3 separate regions of the Homo sapiens genome follow, and regions 1 and 2 are each linked to region 3. Evidence: promoter capture Hi-C in 16 types of primary human blood cells and fetal thymus (Javierre and others, 2016). All regions are on one chromosome and are shown on one strand. Each heading gives the region's core, a stretch centred on a gene start or on the middle of the fragment in contact. The rest is flanking DNA. Distances are from core to core; before and after follow the strand shown.

Region 1 (4,668 bases), core at 1,302-3,801, 2.5 Mb before region 3:
CTAGGAGCACAGAATAAAGCTTTCATTTGAGTTTTAGGTACAGAAGCTTTCACTCAAATGGCAAAATATGGGGTCATTGTGAAGTCATTTTCTTTTTAGAATCAAGAAGCAAAGCAGGGTACTTTGAATGTGAGTTTTAAAGATATATATCCTGAAAATAAGGACAACAAGTGCCAGGGGAGTTAGGAATGCCCTGTCTTCCCAGGCCTCAGCACCAGACTTCTTGACTCTGTGTGGTTCATAAGACTTTGTTGTTGCCAGCAGCAATCTGAATCTGGGTGGGTTCCTCTCTGAGAGCCAGGGTAAGGAAGGGGACAAATGGCATGGTTCACCTTTATTTCTTAGTGGTGTGAGCAGTCAGGATTTCCTTATACATTACTAAGCAGGAAATCCCAAATGCCCAGCAGCAAGGGGTTAAAAACCATTCTGAAAAGCTTTTTATGTTCTGAAAAGTTAAATTACACATACATGAAAACCACAAACACATAGCACCTGGGTAAATAAATTGTGGCCAAATAAAGACCAGGCTATTTGCAAAAGGGAATCTGGAAAACATTTGTTTTTGGGTGGTTAACATTAGTTACACTTTATGCTTTTTTTTCCCCCTAAAGAAAATAGTGTGGTTTAGAAGAAACAGGAAAAAAAAAAAGAATTTTAATATGGCCATTGAAAACAAGATTTCAGTTCATTTACTTTCCAAATCTTAAGGGGCTACCAAGACTGACAGGGGCACAAAGCTACTGCAGCAACACTTTTAGTACAGAAGTTGTCAAACAAAGAACATTTCCCAGACATTGAATGTGCTATGGGATGCAGTGAAGAGGTCACTAAACATTGCTTGTCCTCCACATGTGAGACTAAAGCATCAGTGGTAAATGATAGCAGCTCAGATAATTAAGATTTAAAATGCCATAAATTCAAAACCATTGAACTTCACAATAAGCCAAATTTCCTGGTATAATACAATTTGAGCACTCAGGAGGTCATGCTACAGAGGAATTATGCTGAGCATGTTTCTTATCAGTACTTATGTGGCTAAGTGGTTCCTTTTCCTTGAAGGAAAAAATCATCTCATTATGGCAGAGGTTCCCTATCATTCAGAAGAAAGCTACTAGGTTGAGCTATGAGAAACTGCTAGTTTTGTACATCAAAAACTGTCAAAATCAACAACTGCATATGATTCAGTCTAATACACTTGATTTTTCTAAGCCAGGTCAAGTTAGGATTGACAGTTACTTTTTGTGGGAAGAGAGGAGTGAGGAGTGGGAAATCAAATAGTAAGGCTCTTGTAAGGTTCAGAAAATAAAATGCCTGATCAGAATGCATGTGGTTCCCAGTGGGAACTCCAAATAACTCTTGGGAGTTGCGGACATGAAATGAACATTACAACTTAGAATTGACCTTTTTGGTCAGACCTGGTGGCTGAGATTTTTCCTTATTCAAGAGGCTACAACATGGAAACACTGTACAGCCAGCATATCCTAAATTGCAAACACAAAGGTAGGAATTAAGAACTGAGAACTGGACCCAGTGATTTGTGCCAGTAGTCCCAGCTACTTGGGAAGCTGAAGTGGGAGTATGCTTAAGCCTAGGAGCTGGATACTAGCCTGGGCAACAAACATAACAAAACCTGTGTCTCTTAAACAAACCCCTGAGTTCTCAGGATAGCTCTGTTATTTCTCACAGAGATATTTAAAAAGTTATCATGGAAAATAGTAACAGTGTATCTTGTTCATATATTTAAATTATTAAAGGGAACAAAAGAAAACCAGGGAAATTTGTTCTTTGATAATCGTTCATTGTCTCTACATTATAGCACCATAATTTTGTTAAGGCAACAAAATTTTTTACTGACTTTTGCACGTTAAAACCACTTATAACCTAAGGAATTTTGGTTAGGTAAAGAATTATATCCATATGAATAAACACTGCCAAAATATCCTAAAGTCTATATAAAAAGTATGCATTACAAATTAATGAGTGTAAATTGTGAGACTACTCTCACACAATCCCTGAAATGATTATTTAAAGACTACTCTTAACTATTACTGAGATAGTGCTTGGTCCCTGAATGATGTAATCCTTGTGCAAAGACCCCTCAAGATACGTCAAAGCACAAAAGATAACAGAGGAAAGGAAACAAACGTATTACAACTTCTGATATAAACATTCCTCATAAGTTTGGAATTTTTCATAACTCCTGGGGTAAAAGTTCTTAGAATATGTCACTTTCTGGGAAATTTAACAGCAAAAGTTTTAGCTACTTTTTTTTTTATAATGCATAAGTGTACAAAGTTCAACATGTAACAAATATAAAGATGCCAAAGGGTAAATAAAGCGATGCAAATTTACATAACAAAGCCATTTGATAAATGCCACTATCAGCTATTACTATATATTCCATCCTATAATCTCATAAATCAAAGCTTTTAACTGCCTAGACTCATATGTGACTGTATTCTTTCCAACATGCATTCTTTCTTCTTCCAGGGGTTGTTCAATAACAGCAGGTATGTTTCTGCCATGAAGTTCACAGTGTTCTAGAAACTGGACACATTCTTGAATAACACTATCACGAAGCATGATTGTGTGTTTTGACATGTTTTCTAACAAGGACAGGAAGCATCTTTTGGCATAATACCAGGTGTCTGTTCCCAGCTTTTTGTTGTAAGGTTCCAAGCTTTTGATAACTCGAGAAATACCAAAGTCATAATTTCCTTTGGCACAATAAAGAGTTCCTATCACCAAATTCACAATGCAGAGATGGTACATTTTCTTATCTGGGTCATCATAAGAGAGCTGCTCTTCCTCCTTTTCAATCTTCCTCATCAACTCCTCTGCTTCTTCATTTTGACTTGTCATAATATAGGAAACACAGAGATTAGCCAGTACAATAGCACTGACATTCAGGATGTTATCATAATGCTTCTTGACTATGGGTTCATAGAAACCAATGGCTTCTTTGTATTTGTTTTCCTGCATGAACAGAACATGAGCCACATTCAACTTCCACACATCATGGTCGTTACAGAATTCCACAGATTTGCGGAAGATCTTTTCCACCATTGGATAATTTTCAAGATTCCAGTAGATTTTTGCCTGAGCCATCAACACAGGAATGTATTTCTCCATGGTTTCATCATATTCATTCACTGCCTTTTTGATAGCTTCATCATCTCTATTGTGTCTTGCTTCCTGTACTTGTATGGTAAGTTTCCGGAGGACCTCAGTCAGCATCCCTGCTAGCCCATCAAGCTTAATGAAAGCCTCTTCAGGAGCTGTCTGGCAAGTGATCACAGCGTCCAAGAAGTCATAGAGATAGGGTGTGAGGAACTTATAAATCAAATGGGCATTTTCTGCCAGGACATCTGCTGCCAGGTCAAAATACTCATATTTACAGTAGAGCAGCAACAGGTTGCCAAAAGTCTCTGGAGGAAAGGGATTCTGTTGGAGCAAAAACTGTAGCTTTTCAAACCCTTCTGTAGGCCTGGCATCCATGTTCATTAGTGCCTGGTTGTGTAGGGTCACAGGGTCCAACTCTTCCTCTGCCCTGGGTGGCATGTCAGTGAGGGCTTCTTGAGCTGCCTCATAGTTTCTCAGTTGGTATTCTATAGCTGCCTTAAGGTTGAAGGCTTCCACCAGAGCAGTCTGATGGAGGACTAAGGTGTTGCCAACACTGCGAACATCAATGCCCTCAGTGGTCATGCCCACACCTAGCTCAGGGTGCTGGCGGATGCCACGCTCAATAATCTCAGCGATATGCTTCAGTGCTGAAGCATACTGTCGGCTGCTGTAATAGGCCAAAGCCAGGTTGTAGGAAAGGTCAGGCTGGTAGCCCGAGGCCTGCAGGGCGGCAAAAAACTTGGAGCATGCAGCTTCATACTGTCCCTCCTTGTAGAGCAAACAACCCAGGTTGATCTGGCCATCGGTCTCATTCTCGCCCCCACTTTCCTCTCCCCCTTCCCTACTCGGCAGCTGCTCTACCAGGCTCCTGGACCCTGGCAGATCGCCCTCGCTGTACTTGATAGCAGCTTGCAGGCGGAGGACCCGGCTGTGGTAGGCGGGGTTATCCAGGAGAAGGAAGGCGACCCGGGTGGCCTCCGCATAAAGGCAGGCCTTGTACAGGGCCTGGGCCTGGTACAGGCGGTACTGCTCCAGTTCCGGGTGCAGCTGGCCCAGCTGCTCATAGCACTCGGCCGCCAGCGCGAACTCCTGCAGGCGGTAGTAGCAGTAGCCTAGCAGCGACAGGCCGGCGCGGCTCCTAGGGCTCCGCTGCAGTTCTCCGCCCAGCAGCTGCACCGCCTCGGCGTAGCGTGCATTGCGGATGAGGCGGTACACGACCGCGGTGAACTCCCCGTCGGGGATCTGCGCGCCGCTCAGGCCAGCCATAACCACCACGGCTGTTATGGGTGCGGTTACTATGGCAACAGAGCAACCGGAAGCGGAAGACTGCCGGTTTCCTTGTCGCAAGAAATCTGTTAGGAACAAAAAGGGACCACTCTCGTCAGTCTCTCAATTTCAGCTTGATCTTCAAATACTCTGGACTGCGGAGTGGCGGCATTCAGGAGGGGAAAGACTACTCCGGGCCGTTCAGAGACTGAATCTACTCGTCCCGGCATGCACCGTTCCAGTGGTTCCGCGGCGCGGGTCGTAGCCGCGCTGCATGCT
Region 2 (4,126 bases), core at 1,611-4,110, 2.4 Mb before region 3:
TCCTTTCCATATACACTATAGTGTATGGTTTTGGAAAATTTGGAAGAATTGGGACTAAGACGTTGAGACTCTGATTAGAAAAACTAACCAGTAATTTACTGTTGAGACTTAAGATCTTGAGAGTTTGTGGGTACTCTGTGGACACATGTTTTATAGCAGATGCCATGAGTGCTGGTGAAACTTTTAGTCATGTGTCCTCTATCTTAAGCATTTGACTCTCCTAATGAAATAATTGAAAATAAAATATTAGCAGCAATAAATGCTTTCCCACATAACTTACTAGGGTCCTGCTTGCATAGTATAATTTTAGCCATTTGCTGTTTTGAATTAAGGTATTCAGTCATTGATATTGATGTGTTTTATTTCACAAACGTGCAAATTTCACTTTTGAACAAGGATTTGGGCCCATTTTATATGTTCACATGATATTAATATTTGCAATCAAGTTATTGGCAGGTCTCACTTAAACTAACAAATGCTTATTTTTCACACTAGAAATGTACTTATAAGTCTCTATATTCTAATAATTTTTCCTTATGAAGCAAGTCCTTTTCTAGTAAATACACATTATGATGTTGTAGAACGGATTTCAGTATGTGGTGGATCAATCTTGGCCCAAATCCAAAGGAGCTGATTTAATTAAACAACCAAAAGAACCTCAATTAATAGTGGTATCAAGTATAGAGTAATCACTTAGTAAAGACTCACTCCCCAAGAGAATATTAAACACTATACCTATGGCTAGTAAATTAATTACCGTTTGGCTAATGTCTGGCCCTATTTTTCAATATAAAATGATTATAGATTACAGTAAGGCAAGTGTCCTCTAAAGTTGAGTATATTTAATTCCCAGTGTTACAGAATTTAAAATGATACAAATACTGCATGTCTTTAAAATTTCAGTCTGTTTTTCTACTGAGTTCAAAAAGTTTAAAAGATGGAGGCTACCACAAATATATAAAAAAACTTCACTCTATTCTACAACTTACATAGATCTAGTACTTTTGGTGAGTCCTCTTAAAATTTTTTCTGGCATTACCAATCTGAGAGTCACTTTTTATCAATATATGTTATCTTGTTTTGCAAAAATGCATTTTTAAAAGGTTTCCAAAGTCACCTTGATAATCATAGTGCTCACTCACTTGACACTTACTGCTAAAAGGTTGTTATGCATCTTTTATACCTGGTTGAGGTTCAACTTCCAGCTATCAGAGAAAAATGTCCCTATAATTCTATAATTGACAAAAGGGAAAAGATAAAAAAGGGAAAGAGAACAGGGTGGTAAGAAAGATTGATTTTTCATTTCTTATCTTGTGATACATGCTGCAGCAGTAAACACCACTATCTCTCAAGTAGACCCTTTGAAGACAGGGGGAGAAAACACTCCAAGAGAAAGCTTTAAACTAGAGATTGCCTTCCTATTCTATGTGGCTTTGACCTTTTGGAAAGTGCATGGCCTCTTCTCCTTGTATTAAATAAAACAAGAATATGAGGACTGATGATTTGATTTGGTGAGTTAGTTATGGAAGTAGTTCTGGCATCTCTTATTTCCATTCTGTTATCCATTACTTCTGTTCTGTTAATGGCAGCAGACACTTGATTAACTACTGAGATTTGGACATGCAGGAGATCCAAGGTGGATTGTGAAGTACATCATTAGCTAAATCTCCATTACATCTTCACTTCACCGGTTCCTCTGTTTCCAGATTTCTGGCAGACTGGCATCTAAAGGCCTTCATGTTAGAAGCAGGAGAGGCTCTAAATATTTCAAGAATAATTGAGGAAAAAATACACATTATAACAGCTTGTCAAACTACTGAATGGAACGGTGGTTCATCATTTTTTGGAAGGATTAAAAGCAAATCTCCTCTTCCCGAACAAAAACAAACATTAGTACAAAAACTGAAAGAGGAAGTTAAGAGAATTATACCATTTCTAAATACTTATAAAATTATTAATTTATGCGCAACCATAACAGAGACTGGGGACCACCCTATATATATTCATAGCTACGGCTGTAAGCAAAAATTCCAGGTAAAAAGGCAAAAATCCAAATTTCTTATTAATAATCAGTATAACATCCAACAATAACAATCACTTACCATAGGGGTTAACATTTACTGTAAGCCAAAATCCTAGAAAACATTAATATAAAATACAATTATATATTTCCTAGCTGATTTGCTTATATATCCAGGTCATAAAAAAAGAAAGGCAACTTTTTTCTATGTGGCTTATACAGAATCGGATGTTACAGCTAAAAGTAATTGTAAAGGCTTCTGATAGTTCAAATGATTGTGAAATCCCAAAGAATAAAGGAATTTCTGACAGCCTAAAATTAGAAGGTATGGAACTCATACTTTTATTCTTCTCATTCTCAGTTCAGTGCTTATTTTTTCCTAAAAAATTAAAAAGTAAAAATTAAAAATTTCAGTTTTTAAAAAACCAAAAATATTAATAAGCTTCCACACTTAATATATGTCAGTATCCACAAGGAGGCAAAATCATTTCTGTAAAATCAAAAATAGAACATGAAGAAAAACGTTTATTATAAAACTTAAGAAGCAACCAATCAACCAAATTATGAAAAAAAATTTTGTCACTGACCAAACCTCATAACCTGAAAAGAACCAAGAAAAGAAATTCCCATTATACTTGTACTTCTAAAAGGGCTTAGAGGTCTAAACTAGACTTCGTTGCAATCCAGAAAGTTAAAGGACTAAAAAACTGGAGAAATAGAGTTAAGAATTAGATTTATCAGACAGCATAGTCTATGCTGAGATAGCAAAATAGACATGGCTTTATTTGCTGATTGAGAAGTGGTCCAGCCGTGGGCTAGCAGTCATTTACATATCAGTGACCAAATGCAAACATACCCGTACTAACAGTGCTTTGGTCCATGACATACCCTTTTGACAGCCCAAAGCTGAAACGTCAACTCTATCTGGGGTTACTTGCTTATACAAAGATGTTACTCTAGCAATTGTTGCTTGAGGGCAAGACCAGATGATTGTCACTAGTAGGAAGAAAGCAGAAGTGATGCAGCTTACACTGCATAGTCCCTACCCTTCTGGATTAAATGAAAAAGTTGCTCAAACATAAACTTGTTCTTACAAAGTGGATAAGATTCAAAATAAGACAAATATAAAGATGCCAAGGCTAAATACAGATAAAAAAAAGTGTGGTACGTAAGAAAGCCATTTTGAAAAAAGCCACTATCAGTCATAACTACTTATTCCATCCTATAATCTCATAAATCAAAGCTTTCAATTGTCTGGACTCATCTGTGACTGTATTCTTCCCAACATGCATTCTTTCTTCTTCGAGGGGTTGTTCAATAACAGCAGGTATGTTTGTGCCATAAAGTTCACAGTGTCCTAAAAACTGGACACATTCTTGAATAACACTGTCATGAATGACTATCATGTGTTTTGACATGTTTTCTAACAAGGACAGGAAGCATCTTTTGGCATAATACCAGGTATCTGTTCCCAGCTTTTTATTATAAGGCTCCAAGCTTTTGATAACTCGAGAAATACCAAACTCATAGTTTCCTTTGGCACAATAAAGAGTTCCTATCACCAAATTCACAATGCAGAGATGGTACATTTTCCGATTTGGGTCATCATAAGAGAGCTGCTCTTCCTCCTTTTCAATCTTCCTCATCAACTCCTCTGCTTCTTCATTTTGACTTGTCATAATATAGGAAACACAGAGATTAGCCAGTACAATAGCACTGACATTCAGGATGTTATCATAATGCTTCTTGACTATGGGTTCATAGAAACCAATGGCTTCTTTGTATTTGTTTTCCTGCATGAACAGAACATGAGCCACATTCAACTTCCACACATCATGGTCGTTACAGAATTCCACAGATTTGCGGAAGACCTTTTCCACCATTGGATAATTTTCAAGATTCCAGTAGATTTTTGCCTGAGCCATCAACACAGGAATGTATTTCTCCATGGTTTCATCATATTCATTCACTGCCTTTTTGATAGCTTCATCATCTCTGTTGTGTCTTGCTTCCTGTACTTGCTTGGTGAGTCTCCGAAGCTGCTCAGTCAGCATCCCTGCTAGCCCATCAAGCTTAATGAAAGCCTCTTCAGGAGCTGTCTGGCAA
Region 3 (4,719 bases), core at 302-2,801:
TCTGCATTATTTTTCTTTATACTCAAAAAAAGACAATACAGTGAGGCAGGTATTGTATTACTACCTACATGTTTCCAGATGATGAAGCTGACACTAGAGACTTTAGGTAACTTGCTCCAAGTGACAGACCTAATAATAGCTGGATAAAACAGAAATCTTTGGTCTACTAGTCCATCACCCAGGACCAACACAAGTGGCTTTCCTCCACCTACTGATAACGCCTGTAACAATGCTTCTCCTCTCCTGGTCAAAACCACACTTTTAATGTCAATTTTAAATCTGCCCTTCCATAGTAGGATGATAATTTATGTTAACTCCTGAATTCACAAGCAATCCTAAAACAAGGTAAGTCTAAATACAGATAAGAGGTAGGTTAACTGATCTGCTGAGAACCAAGTTTGCTTGCTTATCTGCTATTTCGAGTCTCTGCACATCTAAAAATGCAAAGGAAACTCTTACCTAATTCTTGCATCTAGAATAGCCTTTCTCCAAATCCTGCCTTCTCCACTTACCTCAGAAGAATTGTTAGGATTAAATGGAAATAGGTACCGTGGTTTTTGCAGTTAAACTCAGTGAAATTAACTATTATATTTCCGTTATATAATGCTGTGTTGTAGGACCCAGAGCTCGTTAGAGAGGTGGAGCCTGGAGACCCAAGTTTGGCAGTTATTACCTCACTGGAGATAGTTCAAGTTATGGAAGGATCAAGAATGACAGATGAAGCGGGCACATGAGAAGCGAAGTGTCTTCAAGACTAAACACTAGACACTATCAGTATTTACAGGGCAAATAAATGAAAAAGAAGACGCTAATGAAATTTAAAACAAATAGTCAAAGGGATATAATGCCGGCAAGAGGCATAAGAGTGCAAGTAATTCAACTAACTTTTAATCAACTAGATCTCATTAATCCCACTCCCCTGACCCTGGGACCCGGGCACTAGGAAAGGGGCTTTGGCAAGCCCCAATGGACTCCAGAGGCTCTAAGTATAAAACGCAGTGCACAAGAAACAACACAGCACCAGCGTTGGTGCAGGATTTCAGACAGCTCCAGGAACTTCACAAGGAAGGTCAGCCGGTCCGCTCAGGCAGTCAGTTCATGGCAGCCCATTCCCTCCCCACCTGCTTGGACCTAGCCGCTCTCACACCCCTCTTGCGGGCCCGAGCGTAGCGAGAAGACCCACGCACACTCCAATGCCGCTCACAGCCGTATCAGTGAGCCCGCACCCACTCCTGGGGGTCTTTTACTTCCCACCCGATCCGGCGACCCGCCACCCCCACTCCGCGTCTCTGCCTGCGGGGACTCCACGGAGTTCGATAATTACCTAGAGCTCCACCGCGCCGCCATTACACCGGACGTACGTCACTTCCTCTTCCCGAGCACCGACGGTAGGAAGAAGGCGAATAGTGAAATATTTAAAAACTTGACGCTCAATTGGCTTGACACGTTATCCCTTTAATTTATTTCAAATACCATATCATAATACCAGAGTCAAAGTAGTCGATCCAGGCACACTGTCTTGTTGCCAAAATGGCGACAAAAAAGAGAAGTTGGCATGAACTACAAAGTCCGAAATCCAGCGCCTGTGCTGACGGAAATGAGGAAAGCATAATTGTAGTTTAGCGTGAAATGGCGCGGTGTACGATGGGAATTGTAGTTCATACAGATGCGCGCCAGCGAGTTAACATCCACGCTGCTCACTGGCAGCCTAGTAGTGTTCAGGGTCTAGCCGAATTTACTTTAAAACTATTTCACTGCATTTTGGGGAAATTTTTTTTAAAAAAGCAGTCAGTTGTCACTTTCCTTGAAAAATCTTAAGAGAGAGATTTTCCTGAGACTTTATAAGAGTTTGACCAACAGTTAAGTGCCTAATAAATTCCAAGATATCCAGGCCATAAGAATGGGAGAATATTAAATCATAAATAGAGTGAAATAATGAGGAAAAACTAATTCTATAGAGACTGTGTTGCCTCTCTTTTAGGTTAAGGTACCAACTGGTATGACCTGAGAATAAAGAGATTGCCTGGCTGAGTAGGAAGTAGCAGTTTGTACAGCGTGCAGAACTAGGGCATCAAACAGTTTCTTTAAACTTCACTTTTCACTAGTAACAAAACCTAAAAGTTCAACTACTTGCTATTTTGGAAACTCTCTTCCTAAACCAAGAATATCTTTATGTTATCAAATCTTTCATAAACCAGGACTGGTTTCTCCACACACTTCTCTATTACAGTTTTAGGGTGCTGTGCTTCCACTCCTTTCTGGAGGCAGAGTGTGATGATTAAGAATAAAAACACTGCAGTTGGACTACTTATTTTGAATCTTGAGTCCTTTTATTATTTATGGATGACTGGGGCAAGTAACTTCACATTCTGTGGCCGTTTCCTGATCTGTTAAATGGAAATACCAATAGTATCCATCCAGGCAGTAGTTTTAAGAATTGAATTAGTTGATACACAAGATGCATTTAAGATAATTGCTAGTATACAATAGTGTTATCTATTTTATTTCATATTTAAGATATTTGGCCATTGTTGATGGTGCATTTTGGTGCACCAATACAGGGCACAGGAGATGGATCTGGAGATGAACATTTGTATTCATATATTTAAAAACCCACAATACTACCGGTGATGGTTAATTCTGAATGTCAACTTGATTGGATTGAAGGATGCAAAGTATTGATCCTGGGTGTATCTGTGAGGGTGTTGCCAAAGGAGATTAACAGTTGAGTCAGTGGACTGGGGAAGACAGACTCACCCTTAATCTGGTGGGAACAATCTAATCAGCTACCATCGAATATAAAGCAGGCAGAAAAATATGAAAAGGCAAGACTGGCCTAGCCTCCCAGCCTATATCTTTCTCCCATGCTGGATGCTTCCTGCCCTCAAACATTGGACTCCAAATTCTTCAGTTGTGAGACTCAGACTGGCTCTCCTTGCTCCTCAAGCTTGCAGACAGCCTATTGTGGGACCTTGTGATTGTGTAAGTTAATACTTAATAAACTCCCCTTTTTATATATATATCCTTATATATAGATATATATATTAGGATATATATATAAGGATATATATAAAAAATAGGATATATATGTAATAGGATATATATACGTGTGTGTGTGCGTGTGTGTGTATCTATCTATCTATCTATCTATCTATCTATCTATCTATCTATATCCTATTAGTTCTGTCCCTCTAGGGAACCCTGATGAATATACTACCTCTACAACTATCAACAGAAATAGGAAAGTTAGGGTTGAGCAGAGGAGAACTAGATGGAGCTGGAAAAGAATTGGATTTGTCAGTTGGGTCCTTCAGGAAGCAGACACTGAGAAAGAGTTATGAATAATAAAGGTGAAAGGAAAATGGAGGAAATAGTAGCTCCAGAATAAAGATGAAGAGGCCTACAATGGGATGAAATGGCTAGGCCCTTGTACCAGTTTTGCTCAGTCACTGGCTAGAGCCACCCCAAGAAGAGTGTGGCCTCAACTAAAAACCCAAGGTGGACATGAAGATTCAACAGTTGAAGGCTGTCACCTAACCACACTGCTTGCAGCTAGGCTACAAGCAAGTCCTTTCTTGAAGAGGTATCTGAGCAGCATCTCTCTGTGCCTGTCACAGTCTCCATACACCCAGTCTCCATACACCTTTCAGGAACAACTTTTCCAGGGTTCTAGTGCACATTTCTTCCTAAAAAAAATTTAGAAGTGGCAAGTTAGTGAGACAAACTACACTCCCCATCTTTGGGTCCTGAGGCCACACTGAATCCATTGCCTCTCTTCTCCACTATTCATTCTAAATTTCCCTTGCTGTCAGCTACTGCTCTACTGCTCTCTATGGTAAACTGGTGGTGTAAAAATCCTAATTCCTGGGAAGTCTGAGCGCCTGGTAGTGATCTTCTTTTCAGGCAGGTGCTGCTGCATTTTTTCATTGATGGTCACTATAAGGTAAGGGATTACCAAGAGATGCTAAAGTGGATCGCCTAAGTACCACATATATTCTTACTTGCTCCCATTGTGTAACAGCAAGCGTATCTCCTCCTGCTGTTTGGATTTAGCTACCTCTGACAAAGCATTGATTCCTTTCTTGCCTACTAGCCCCTGAACTCTAGAAGTCCTGTGTTTCCAGGCACCTGCTGAGCTTAGTTCAGTGGGACACTGTGTCCCCTAGCAAGAATATATCACCTTTGGGGATTAGGACCACCAATTCCACAGAGCTCAGAGTTGCAGGAATGGGAAATACTATGTCCCACCGCAGGTCATTGGGAAAAATGGTGAGTTAGGTTACATTCCTGTTTTCATCCCTTGTTTCCTGGATCCAAGTGTTGTTCTTACTAGGGACCCTGCATCCTGAGAGACAGTACCTCATTCTTGCAGAATATTGTCTTCTAGCTGATACTTTAACTGAATCTTCAGCAGGTCATTCCAGTGCTCTATTAGGCCACCAGCTTCTGGGCATGCAGCATGTGATACATCCAGTGGAACCCATGGTCACAGGCTTGTACCACCTTTGCTATGAAGTAAGTCCTGCTTGGATGTTATGTTGTATTATATTCCACACCTGTGGATCAAGCATTGTGGAAGTCCACAGATACTGGTGCTGGATGAGTCTTGGTGAGTATAAAATGTGAATGCATACCCCAAATAAATATTCCCATAAAATTGAACTGCTAGAATGGAAAGATCTCAATGTAGTCTACTTACCACCAAGTGTCTACTTGATC

The links. Contacts are between HindIII fragments. The CHiCAGO score rates a contact against its expected background, and 5 or more counts as called.
Region 1: a contact is called between a fragment that was not itself captured here and the fragment with the promoter of CWC22 in region 3, in 1 of 17 cell types (non-activated CD4 T cells). The highest score is 8.4, in non-activated CD4 T cells.
Region 2: a contact is called between a fragment that was not itself captured here and the fragment with the promoter of CWC22 in region 3, in 1 of 17 cell types (activated CD4 T cells). The highest score is 5.6, in activated CD4 T cells.

Annotation. Positions count from the first base shown.
Region 1 is chr2:177,548,375-177,553,042 of GRCh38, forward strand. IFT70B (intraflagellar transport 70B) reads right to left here and starts at 4,422. Exons shown (of 1, transcript NM_152517.3): 1 at 624-4,422. The coding sequence starts at 4,389. The coding sequence ends at 2,392. RefSeq lists enhancers at 3,422-4,226, 4,227-4,668, 4,399-4,668. The HindIII fragment of the contact is 254 bases long and covers 2,425-2,678 here.
Region 2 is chr2:177,613,476-177,617,601 of GRCh38, forward strand. It overlaps IFT70A (intraflagellar transport 70A), which reads right to left. Exons shown (of 1, transcript NM_152275.4): 1 at 1-4,126. The coding sequence ends at 3,229. IFT70A-AS1 (IFT70A antisense RNA 1) reads left to right here. Exons shown (of 3, transcript NR_198966.1): 2 at 3,826-4,045. Among named protein-coding and RNA genes, the nearest start is that of IFT70A, 3.2 kb to the right of the region's middle. The HindIII fragment of the contact is 801 bases long and covers 2,461-3,261 here.
Region 3 is chr2:180,005,746-180,010,464 of GRCh38, forward strand. It overlaps CWC22 (CWC22 spliceosome associated protein), which reads right to left and starts at 1,552. Exons shown (of 20, transcript NM_020943.3): 1 at 1,122-1,552. RefSeq lists an enhancer at 700-1,232. The HindIII fragment of the contact is 3,569 bases long and covers 1-2,945 here.